Linked DNA regions of Homo sapiens: region 1 is linked to region 2. The links are contacts of gene promoters, found by promoter capture Hi-C in blood cells and fetal thymus (Javierre and others, 2016). All regions are on one chromosome and are shown on one strand. Each heading gives the region's core, a stretch centred on a gene start or on the middle of the fragment in contact. The rest is flanking DNA. Distances are from core to core; before and after follow the strand shown.

Evidence for each region. Contacts are between HindIII fragments. The CHiCAGO score rates a contact against its expected background, and 5 or more counts as called.
Region 1: a contact is called between a fragment that was not itself captured here and the fragment with the promoter of RMND5B in region 2, in 3 of 17 cell types (naive CD8 T cells, total CD8 T cells and naive B cells). The highest score is 6.9, in naive CD8 T cells.

What each region holds. Positions count from the first base shown.
Region 1 is chr5:178,064,866-178,070,565 of GRCh38, forward strand. No RefSeq gene overlaps it. Among named protein-coding and RNA genes, the nearest start is that of N4BP3, 46 kb to the right of the region's middle. RefSeq lists a silencer at 3,675-3,754. The HindIII fragment of the contact is 4,078 bases long and covers 2,249-5,700 here.
Region 2 is chr5:178,128,975-178,135,009 of GRCh38, forward strand. RMND5B (required for meiotic nuclear division 5 homolog B) reads left to right here and starts at 2,040. Exons shown (of 11, transcript NM_022762.5): 1 at 2,040-2,080; 2 at 2,263-2,402. RefSeq lists enhancers at 562-1,213, 1,214-1,865, 3,144-3,673 and a silencer at 1,597-2,186. The HindIII fragment of the contact is 11,712 bases long and covers 341-6,035 here.

The DNA of each region.
Region 1 (5,700 bases), core at 3,038-5,537, 62 kb before region 2:
CCCTGTGTTGTTGGAGGTGGCAGCTACCTCTGTGGCTTGTCCCAGGGTCACCAGAAATTCTGGAGAGAAATAGATGTGGTCCGTGAGATGAAATAAGTGAAACCTTCACTTCTGCTTATTTGGAAAGCCTCCCTCAGACTTAGTTTCTTCGTCTGAAAAATGGGCGTAATTACTACCTGATGGGGTTATTGTGAGAATCACATGAGCCAATCTATGCTCAGGGTGCAAAGCATGGAACTCCTCTTGCCTTCTGAAATTATGTGAGAAGATCTCCAGCACCACTCCTTCATCCCGAGACTCTCCCAGCCTTGCACAGTCCAGAGAAGGTCACTGCAGATTAAAATAGACCTAAAAGACACATCTACCAAATGCAGCGTGTGGACTTTAGGTGGATTCTGACTGAAACCCACCAATCCCGCTTGATCCGTGGTTCCACTTTCCACCATTGCAGTTGTCTGTGGTACAATTCAATAAGATAGTCTTAGGGAGATAGACCACATTCACATAACTTTTATTACAGTGCATTATCAATTATTGTTGTTAAACTCTTACTGTGCCTCATTTATAATTACACTTTATTATAGGTGTGTATGTATAGGAAAAAATATAGTATACAAGGGCTCGGCATTATCTGTGGTTTCACGGCATCCACAGGATCTCGGAACATACACCCCGCAGATAAGGGGGTACAGCTATATAAAAATGTATTCTTGAGAAAATCAGGAAAAGGCAAATAAGGATTGGGCATTAAAAGATGCCAAAGTGGCTGGGCGCACTGGCTCAAGCCTGTAATCCCAGCACTTTGGGAGGCCTAGGCAGGTGGATCACCTGAGGTCAGGAGTTTGAAACCAGCCAGGCCAACATGGTGAAATCCCATCTCTACTAAAAATGCAAAAATTAGCCGGGCATGGTTGCGAGTGCCTGTAATCCTAGTTACTAGGGAGGCTGAGGCAGGAGAATCACTTGAGCCCAGGAGACGGAGGTTGCAGTGAGCCGAGATCATGCCACTGCACTCCAGCTTGGCCAACAGAGCGAGACTCTGTCTCAAAAAAAAAAGATGCCAAAGATGCCAAAGTGTGATAGTGCAATTGGGTTTTTAAAAAATTCTTATCCTCCTGGTGACATGCGCCTGTAGTCCCAGCTGAGGTGGAAAGACTGCTTGAGGCCAGGAGTTCAAGACCAGCCTGGGCAACATAGCAAGACCATATATACACACAAAAAATTAGCCAGGCATGCTGGTGTGTGCCTGTAGTCTTAGCTACTTGGGAGGCTGAATCAGGGAGATCACTTGAGCCCAGGAGTTTGAGGCTGCAGTGAGCCAAGCTCACACTACCGCACTCCAGCCTGGGCAACAGAGTGAGACCTCATCTCTTAAGAAGAAAATTTTAGCCTTTAGAGATACAGCCTAAAGTATTTATGGGTAAAATACTATAATGTCTGAGGTTTGCTTTTAAATAATCTGATCGTGTGAGTGGATGTGAGTGCATAAAGATGAAAAAAGAGGCCAGGCGCAGTGACTCATATCTGTAATGCCAGCACTTTGGGAGGCTAAAGCGGGCAGATTGCTTGAACCCAGAAGTTCGAGACCAGCCTGAGCAACATAGTGAGACCTCGTCTCTACAACTAAAAAAAGAACTTAAAAAAAAGAAAAAAGGTGAAACAGGCCGGGTGCGGTGGCTCATGCCTGTAATCCCAGCACTTTGGGAGGCCAAGGTGGGTGTATCGCTTGAGGTCAGGAGTTCGAGACCAGCCTGGTCAACATGGTGAAACCCCATCTCTACTAAAAATGCAAAAATTAGCCAGGCGTGGTGGCGGGTGCCTGTAATCCCCGCTACTCCAGAGGCTGAGGCACGAGAATCGCTTGAACCAGGTAGGCGGAGGTTGCAGTGAACTGAGATCATGCCACTGCACTCCAGCCTGGGTGACAGAGTGAGACTCCATCTCAAAAAAAAAAAAAAAAAAAGGTGAAACAAGTGGTCCTGAGATGCTCACTGTAGGTAACTGATAGCTGCCTGATAGGTACAAGAGAGTTTATTGCTCTCTTCGTTCTTCTTTGATGTATGTGTGAAATGCTTTGTGGAAGGAGGGAAGGAGGATGGGAGAGAAGCAGGGAGGAAGGAAAGCACTCTGAACATTTCCTGTTGTGTAGGTAAGAACTCCAGCGCATCTCAGACCACCAGAGCTCGGGCCACCAAGCTCTGCTACTAAGGGCTGCCCTCCTGCTTGCAGTGACACCACTAGCAGCGTAAGCTTCCAGAAGAGGATGGTTCCACACACAGTGCCAGCTTCACCAGTCCTTCTGGGCACAAACACACCCAAGGGATTCCTGCTTCGAGAATGCAGGGTCTGAGTGGGCTCCAGCATCTCTCCCTGTAGATTCCATGGCCCTTGTCCTCTCCAGGCCCAGGAAATCCAGCACAAGACGTACAGCCACCTTCCTTTTTCAACCTCCTGAAATACCAGAGCAGCTCCCCTTCAAATCATCCCACCCCTTCAGAAGGGGCTCAGATCTGGGAGGAAAAGGGCTCCCAGTGTGGGGCACTGTCACCCTCCACAGGCCACAGAGGACCCTCCTGGGATGGGGAAAGAGATGGGTGGGCTGGGTGGGGAGACTGTTTTCTGGTCACACCTGTTGCTCCCCATTCTACCTCCCCCCACTTGAATACAGACAAGGAGACCTCTTGCTAGAAAAGTGACATCATGGCAGGGCATGGTGGGTCACACCTGTAATCCCAGCACTTTGGGAGGCCAAGGCGGGCAGATCACTTGAGGTCAGGAGTTCAAGACCAGCCTAGCCAACATGGCGAAACCCCATCTCCACTAAAAATACAAAAATTAGACTGGCGTGGTGGCGTGCACCTGTAATCCCAGCTAGTCAGGAGGCTGAGGCACAAGAATCGCTTGAACCCGGGAGGCGGAGGTTGCAGTGAGCTGAGATTGTGCCACTGCACTCCAGCTTGGCTGACAGAGCGAGACTCTGTTTCAAAAAAAAAAAAAAGTGACTGTAAAAGTTACATGCCCATAAATCTCCATGCTACAAGCCAGGGAAACAGCAAGAGGCCATGTGCAGATGGGAGTGGCCCCTTCCCACTCCCAAGATCAAGAGCTCCTTATGCATCCACCAGCTTGTAATCACTTGCTTCTTCTCACAGACGTTCCTGAGAGGAGACTTCCCACCAGCCTGACATATTGTCGGGGAGAAAGTCACTTCCCAACCTTGCTTTAGGCCAGTGTTTACTGAGAGACAGGCATGTGCCTCAGAAGGGAGAAAACTTCCTCCCAAAACATGTTAGTATATAAGTATCTTCCAGCCAATTTCTTTCCTTTGAAAAAACCTTACTGGCCAAAATTTTTCAAAATAAAAAAATTGGGGAGAGGAAGATTCTAAGACAGTGGAGTAGCAAGTTCCAGAAATCTGTCTCTTCACCTAGACAACAATTGCGCCGGCAGAATCTGTCTGATGTGACTATTTTGGCACTCTGGAGTCTATTGACGGCTTCCAACTGTGGCTAATTTGGGTCAATTTCAGCTCTCAGCAGGCAGCAGCCACCCATCTCCCATCCCATGCCCCTGGCAGGCAGCTGTGCACATGTTCCTGGAGCAGCTTGCAGACAGCTGGTGGGTGGGAGCCGGGTGAACAAAAAGGACCCTGTCCTCCAAATACGGGAGGTCTGTGCTCTGCTCACTGATTGCTGCTTCTGATCACTGAGGTGCAAAGAGGTGGTGGTTATTGTGGTTGCACCTGCCCCCAATGTTACAAGCCCTTCCCCCTCTGACTGAAGTGACTTCCAGAGGATTTAAGGACTGTGGGCCTGCCCCCACCTGGTTCACATTTCTCTTTCTCCCCTCTTGGGAGGCAGACATTGAAGACCAGAACATTCTAAAGCAACTGCATATATTGGGGAAATTAGAGAGTCACCATGTGTGCCCCAGGGAAGACGCACGTTCAGAGAAGACTTGAGAAAACCTTAAGTTTATAGCTCTGGCTGATCATTGGCACAGAGACAGACTACAAAGATTAATTTAAAAAAAAAAAAAGTCTGGCCGGGTGTGGTGGCTCACACCCATAATCCCAGCACTTTAGGAGGCCAAGATGGGTCGATCACCTGAGATCAGGAGTTTGAGACCAGCCTAGCCAATATGGTGAAACCCTGTCTTCTACTAAAAGTACAAAACTTGGCTGTGCATGGTGGTTCACGCCTGTAATCCCAGCACTTTGGGAGGCTGAGGCTGGTGGATCGCCTGAGGCCAGGAGTTCAAGACCAGCCTGGCTAATGTGGCGAAACCCCATCTCTACTAAAATTTAAAAAATTAGCTGGGCATGGTAGCACGTGCCTGTAATCCCAGCTACTTGGGAAGCTGAGACAGGAAAATTGCTTGAACCCAGGAGGCAGAGGTTGCAGTGAGCTGAGATCATGCCACTGCACTCTAGCCTGAGCGACAGAGGAAGACTCCATCTCCAAAAAAAAAAAAAAAATTATCCAGGCATGGTGGTGAACACCTATAGTCCCAGCTACTCTGAGAGATGAGGCACAAGAATTGCTTGAACCTGGGAGGTGGAGGTTACAGTGAGCCAAGATCCAGCCACTGAACTCCAGCCTGGGTAACAGAGTGAGACTCTGTCTCCAAAAAAACAAAGAAAGAAAACAGATTGAAGAGGCCAGGCACAGTGGCTCATGCCTGTAATCCCAACACTTTGGGAGGCTGAGGCGGGTGGATCACTTGAGGTCAGGAGTTCAAGACCAGCCTGGCCAACATGGTGGAACCCAGTCTCTACTAAAAACACACAATTATCCAGGTGTGGTGGTGTGTGCCTGTAGTCCCAGTTACTCGGGAGGCTGAGGCAGGAGATGGAGGTTGCAGTGAGCTGAGATCGTGCCACTACACTCCAGCCTGTGTGACAGAGGCAGACTCCCTCTCAAAAAAAAAAAAAATTGAAGAAAACTGAACAGAGTCTATAGGATCTGCGAGACACCATCAAGCAGACCAACATACACATCGTGGGGGCCCCAGAAGTGCATACGTGTCTGTAAGTAGTGTTTTCCCAGCATGACTTGGAGGAAACCCTGCCTTTCTGGCTTAGGCTCGGCCACAGCCATCTATGTGAGACCAACCCAGAAACACTGGCGCCTTGGGGAGACAGTGAGCCTGGTGGAGGGACACTCTGGTTGGGAACTGGACAGCCCCAGTTCTGCAAATAACTGCATGTGCTTGTGAGACCGACTCACCCCACCAATCCTCTCTTCCTCATCTGTGAAAGAGGCGGAACACCAGCACCCCCCTCTGGCAGTGTGAAGGTTTCAGTAGGGGACACATCGTGGAGGATGGCTGGGATTTGCTCACACCACTGCTTAGATGAGCAGAAAAGATGTGTCCAAGTGAATCTTCTTCCCAAGGCATGGGTGCTTGTGGGGGTGGGGGGTGCCAAGACTTCAACTTAGCATCTCAGTCTCTTCTGAGTTTCTTTTAAAGTCCAACTTTGAACCTAGAGATGTGTAAACAGAATCTTGTGAAAGACGATGTCTTTCAGATGAATGTTCTATCATTTGGATGGAAATGATATTGAATCCCCCTCCTTGTGCAAATGAGCCCTGTGTATGTATGTGTATGTGTATGTGTATGTGTATGTATGTGTATGTGTATGTGTATGTGTATGTGTATGTGTATGTATGTATGCGTGTGGGGGTGGGGGGTACTTAG
Region 2 (6,035 bases), core at 790-3,289:
GGAGCAGAAGTGGGCAACACAGAGACCTGGCTTTTTCTCCAGGGCTGTTCCTAGTCCCAGCTGAGGCCTGAGGAGGAGTGGGGACTTCTCTACTCTTTCCCTCCAGAGCAGAGGGTCCGGGATAGAAAATTCAATCTGGGGCTGGGTGTGGTGGTTCATGCCTGTAATCCCAGCAATTTGGGAGGCTGTGGTGGGTGGATCACCTGAGGTCAGGAGTTTGAGACCAGCCTGGCCAACATGGCAAAATCCCCTCTCTACTAAAAATACAAAAATTAGCCGGGCATGGTGGAGCATGTCTGTAATCTGTTACTCATGGAGCTGAGGCAGGACAATCGCTCGAAGCTTGGAGGTGGAGGTTGCAGTGAACCGAGATCACACCACTGCACTCCAGCCTGGGCAACAGAGCAAGACTTCATCTCAAAAAAAGAAAAAGAAAATTCAGTCTGGACCTGGGTTTGGGGTCAGTGCCTGTTCCCTCCTCCTTCCTAACCCTCACCCTTCCTCCTTAGGGCAGATGGGCAGCTCCCATCTTCTCCCCTTCCCCCGTTCCCCAGGACAGCGACCAACACAGGGCGGCAGGGTAGGGCTGGACCCCCTCCTCCGCAGAACTGAATTCTGTTGAATACCCAGTGGGCAGATTAAGTTCGGGCTAAGGGGACCAGAAAGGCTGGGACAGGAAAGGAGTTTTCTTTTCTTTTCTTTTTTTTTTTTTTGAGACGGAGTCTCGCTCTGTCGCCTAGGCTGGAGTGCAATGGCGCGATCTCGGCTCACTGCAACCTCCGCCTCTCGGGTTCAAACGATTCTCCTGCCTCAGTCTCCCGAGTAGCTAGGATCATGGGACTACAGGCGCCTGCCACCATTCCCGGCTAATTTTTGTATTTTTAGTACAGACGGGGTTTCACCATATTGGACAGGCTGGTCTCGAACTCCTGACCTTATGTTCCGCCCGCCTCAGCCTCCCAAAGTGCTGGGATTACAGGCGTGAGCCGCCCGGCCCGGAGTTTTCTATTCTTTTTTTTTGAGACGGAGTCTCGCTCTGTCGCCCAGGCTGGAGTGCAGTGGCGCCGTCTCGGCTCACTCCGAGCTCCGCCTCCCGGGTTCACGACATTCTCCTGCCTCAGCCTCCCGAGTGGCTGGGACTACAGGCGCCCCCCACCTCGCCCGGCCAATTTTTTGTATTTTTAGTAGAGACGGGGTTTCACCGTGTTAGCCAGGATGGTCTCGATCTCCTGACCTCCTGATCCGCCCGCCTCGGCCTCCCAAAGTGCTGGGATTACAGGCGTGAGCCGCCGCGCCCGGCCTGGAGTTTTCTTTTTTTTTTTAAGCATCACTTCATATTTCAAGAGCTCTCAGTTCTCCTGAGATTTCTAGGCTCTGTCCAGGATCCCTAAGCCTGTTCACAGTCCTACTTGAAGTTTCTAATCTTTCTTTTCTCATTAACCAAAACTGGAGAGAGGAAAAAGCCCATCATTTTCCCTGGACAGCAGCGCCTACTGGGAGTTTCACCCGCATTAACATGCAAACGACAGGCAAACTCCTAGTCATCCTTCCAAAGACCCTGCTCCACAGCCCTGCCGAGGCCGGTGCGCACCTAGCCCAGCCACTGCCCCTCACGGCCCCCGCGCCGCCCTCACTGAGCAGGGCGGGCAGCGCTGTAAGCGTAACCACTTGGGGCTTGGGGCTTCTGACCCGGGAGTCGGGTGCTGGGTTGAGTGCGAGGCCGACGCCTCTGCCGGGTGGGGAACCCGCCCGCCGGCGAGGAGCGGTCGCGGCCAGGGGCTTCCGCCGACTGGGAGGCCCGGGGCCGGGCCGGAGGGACTCGGAACCTGGAAACGACCAGGCGCGACCCCCAGAGGACTACAGGCGCGGCTTTTCTGGCCGCCGCCCGGTTCCCGCGGGCGACTCCACTCGGCATGCGCGGCGGGGAGCCTCGGCGGTGAGGCGCAAAGCCGCGGGCTCGTGGGACGGCCACCCCTCCGCAAAACCGCCAATGGGCGGGCCCGGGCCGCCGATCGCCCGCCGCGGCTTCCGGTTCCGATGACAGTGGCGCCGGAAGCCGGGGCCGGGGCTGCGGGGCGAGGTGAGAGCGGGCGGGCTTGGGAGCCGGCAGGTGCGGGCCGAGGGCGGGCACAGCGGCCGGCGGAGCTGAGGCGCGCGGCGGGGAAAGCTCGGCCGGCCTCCCGGGCCCCAGCCTTCTCCAGAACCCCTGCTACCCACGACTAAGCCCCGAACAATCTGCCCTTGGGCTTGTTCTCTTCGCAGTTGTCGGCCCTGGGCCGGGAGCTGGAGTCCCAGACTCATAGGTCCCGGCCCAGCCCCCGAAGAGCCGCCTCAGCCGGGGGGAGTTGCTCGGACTCAAACGTCCAGTCCTCGTGCGACCGCGCTGGGTCGGAAGTGAGCAGGTGCGCACCGGGCTCGGCAGGGCTATGGAGCAGGGTCTTTGGAAGGATGACTAGGAGTTTGCCTGTCGTTTGCATGTTAATGCGGGTGAAACTCCCAGTAGGCGCTGCTGTCCAGGGAAAATGATGGGCTTTTTCCTCCCTCCAGTTTTGGTTAATGAGAAAAGAAAGATTAGAAACTTCAAGTAGGACTGTATAGTAAAAAAAAAAAAAAAATGGAGGAGGGCGATATGACACGGTAACTGGTGTGAGGGTGGGGCGGAGGGGTCAGTATTAGATACTGTGGTCTAGCAGAGCATCTCTGAGGACGGGACATTTGCGTTGAGACCCAAATTAGGAGGCAGGCTTAGGAAGATACGGGAAGAGAGTGGTCCAGGCAGCGGGAACAGCCAGTGTGAAGGCCCTAGGGCAGAAATCAACTGAGAGTATAGTCAAGGAACAGAAAGCAAGCTAGTGTGGCTAAAGTATGGTAAGAAAGGGAAAGAGTGGTAGGAGATGAGGTCGGATAATTGGGGTTTGGTCACATAGAGTCTGTAGGTCAGAGAGAGGAATGTGGAGTTTTTTCTAAGTACAGTGGAAATCTTTTGGTTTTAAGCAGAGGAGTGACATGTAGGGTAGAGAGTGGATGGAGGTCGCGGCTGCAAAAGCATAAGAATTGGCTGGGCACGGTGGTTCACGCCCGTAATTCCAGCACTTTGGGAGGCTGAGACTGGCAGACGGCTTGAGCTCAGCACTTCAAGACCAACCTGGCCAACATGGTGAAACCCTGTCGCTCCAAAAAATTAGGCTGGGCGCAGTGGCTCACGCTTGTAACCCCAGCACTTTGGGAGGCCAAGGCGGGAGGATCACTTGAGGCCAGGAGTTCAAGACCAGCCTGGCCAACATGGTGAAACCCCGTCTCTACTAAAAATACAAAATTTAGCCGGGTGTGGTGGCAGGTGTCTGTAATTCCAGCTACTTGGGAGGCTGAGGCAGGAGAATCGCTTGAAACTGGGAAGCAAAGGTTGCAATGAGCCAAGATCGTGCCACTGTACTCCAGCCTGGGCGACAGAGTAAGACTCTGTCTCAAAAACAAACAACAAAAAAATTAGCCAGGTGTGGTGGGGAGAGAGGGGAAGAATAGGGACAAAAGGGAATACATAAATAAACACAAAGGAGAAAAGGCCCTGCATGGACCACTTACATGTGTCATGAACTCAGGAGTGTTCATGGTGGGACTACATGGTGCACCTGTAGTCCCAGCTTCTTGGGGTGGGGGGCTGAGGTGGGAGGATCACTTGAGCCCAGGAGGTCGAGGCTGCAGTGAGCCCTGATTGTACCACAGCACTCTGGCCTGGGAAACAGATTGAGACCCTGTCTCTCTCTTTTTTTTTTTTTTTTTAAGCAACCCTATTAACTGAAGAGACCCTGCCTCACAAAAAAAAAAAAAAAAAAAAAAAAGCGTTAAGAATTGGGTCAATGGAGGTTGTCTAATCTTTTTTTTTTGTTTTTGTTTGTTTGTTTGTTTTTTTGAGACAGTCTCACTCTGTCGCCCAGGCTGGAGTGCAGTGGCGCCATCTCAGCTCACTGCAACCTCTGCCTCCTGGGTTCAAGCAATTCTCCTGCCTCAGCCTCCCGAGTAGCTGGGATTACAGGCACGCACCACCACGCCCAGCTAATTTTTGTATTTTTAGTAGAGACAGGGTTTCGCCATGTTGGTCAGGCTGGTCTCAAACTCCTGACCTTGTGATCCGCCTGCCTCGGCCTCCCAAAGTGCTGGGATTACAGGCATGAGCCACCACGCCCAGCCGATGTTGTCTAATCTTTGTCAGGCAAAAGGGACCTTTATGATTTGCTCAAACTTCCTTTCTCCTTACACAGGAGCCCCTTGTTTCAGGATGCTAAATACTCCAGGATAAACCTCCATACATGCCTTTGTGGAGATTTTAATATTTCACTCATGTCTCTTTTCTACCCACTCCTACACATTTGAGCTCAGGTTCTCCAGCGCAGTTAGGAAATGGATGTGTCATTTAATCAGCAAATGTGTGTGTGTGTTTTTTTAAATTTGAGACGGAGTTTTTGCTCTTGTTGCCCAGGATGGAGTGCAATGGCGTGGTCTTGGCTCACTGCAACCTCCACCTCCTAGGTTCAAGCGATTGTCCTGCCTCAGCCTCCTGAGTAGCTGGGATTACAGGTGCCCGCCACCACGCCTCGGTAATTTTTGTATTTTTAGTAGAGACGAAGTTTCACCATGTTGGTCAGGCGGGTCTCAAACTCTTGACCTCAGGTGAGCCACCCACCTCAGCCTCCCAAAGTGCTGGGATTACAGGTGTGAGCCACTGCGCCGGCCAATCAACAATTTTTTTTTTTTTTGGAGACGGAGTCTCACGCTGTCTCCCAGGCTGGAGTGCAGTGGCACAATCTTGGCTCACTGCAAGCTCCACCTCCCGGGTTCACACCATTCTCCTGCCCCAGCCTCCCGAGTAGCTGGGACTACGGGTGCCCGCCACCACACCCGGCTAATTTTTTGTATTTTTTTAGTAGAGATGGGGTTTCACCGTGTTAGCCAGGATGGTCTTGATCTCCTGACCTCATGATCCACTCGCCTCGGCCTCCCAAAGTGTTGGGATTACAGGCGTGAGCCACCGCGCCCTGCCCCAATCAACAAATGTTTACTGAGCATCTACCATGGACCAGGCCCTAGTCTGGGCACTGAGGGGGAGAAAGGACAAGACTACATTCCAGCCATCGAGCAGCTCACAGACCAATGGAGGAGGCTGACGTGGACAGGCTGTTACTGTGCTGCAGTAGCTGAGGACTCGATGGGTGTGGTGTGGCCACTCTTGCCAGGTTATGAAGCAGAAAAGGAGGCAGGGAGATTTCACTGAGGGCTCAAGGGGAGGTGATAATTTAACTACAGCTTACGTACTCTATACAAAGAAGTGCAGAGGGCACTCTAAAAATGGGAACAACTTGTGCAAAGGAAGCAAATACATTATTGCAAAGGGTTTATATGTCAACCATGGTAGTGTTGGGCAAAAGGTAACAGGATCTGCTATGTGTTTCGGAGGGTCATCCTGGTGGATAATTTCTGTATATGTGAGACCTTGGGGAGGAAGGCTTAGGACCAGTGGACATGAAATTTCAATCTATTAATCATGAAGTTTGTCAAAGACAAACACAATTCCTTGCGCCTGGTGAAGATGACTGACTGATTCAGGCAGAGTGGCTTGCTCTAGACAGACTGAATTAACCTCCTGCATTTTTTGGATAGAATACCCACGAACAGTTCTGTTTTCTCAGTTCATTTATTTTACTTTTAAAAATTTGGCCAGGTGATTTGGCTCACACCTGTAATCCCAGTGCTTTGGGAGGCCAAGGCAGGTGGATCACTTGAGGCTAGGAGTTCGAGACCAGCCTGGCCAAAATGGCGAAACCCCGTCTTTACTAAAAATACAAAAATGAAAAAAAAAAAAAGCCAGGTGTGGTGGTGCACCTGTAATCCCAGCTACTTGGGAGACCAAGGCATAAGAATTGCTTGGACCCGGGAGGTGGAGGTTGCCAGTGAGCCAAGATAGCACCACTGTATTCCAGCCTGGGCAACAGAGCGAGACCGTCTACAAAAAAAAAAAAAAAATTACTGAGTTAATCACA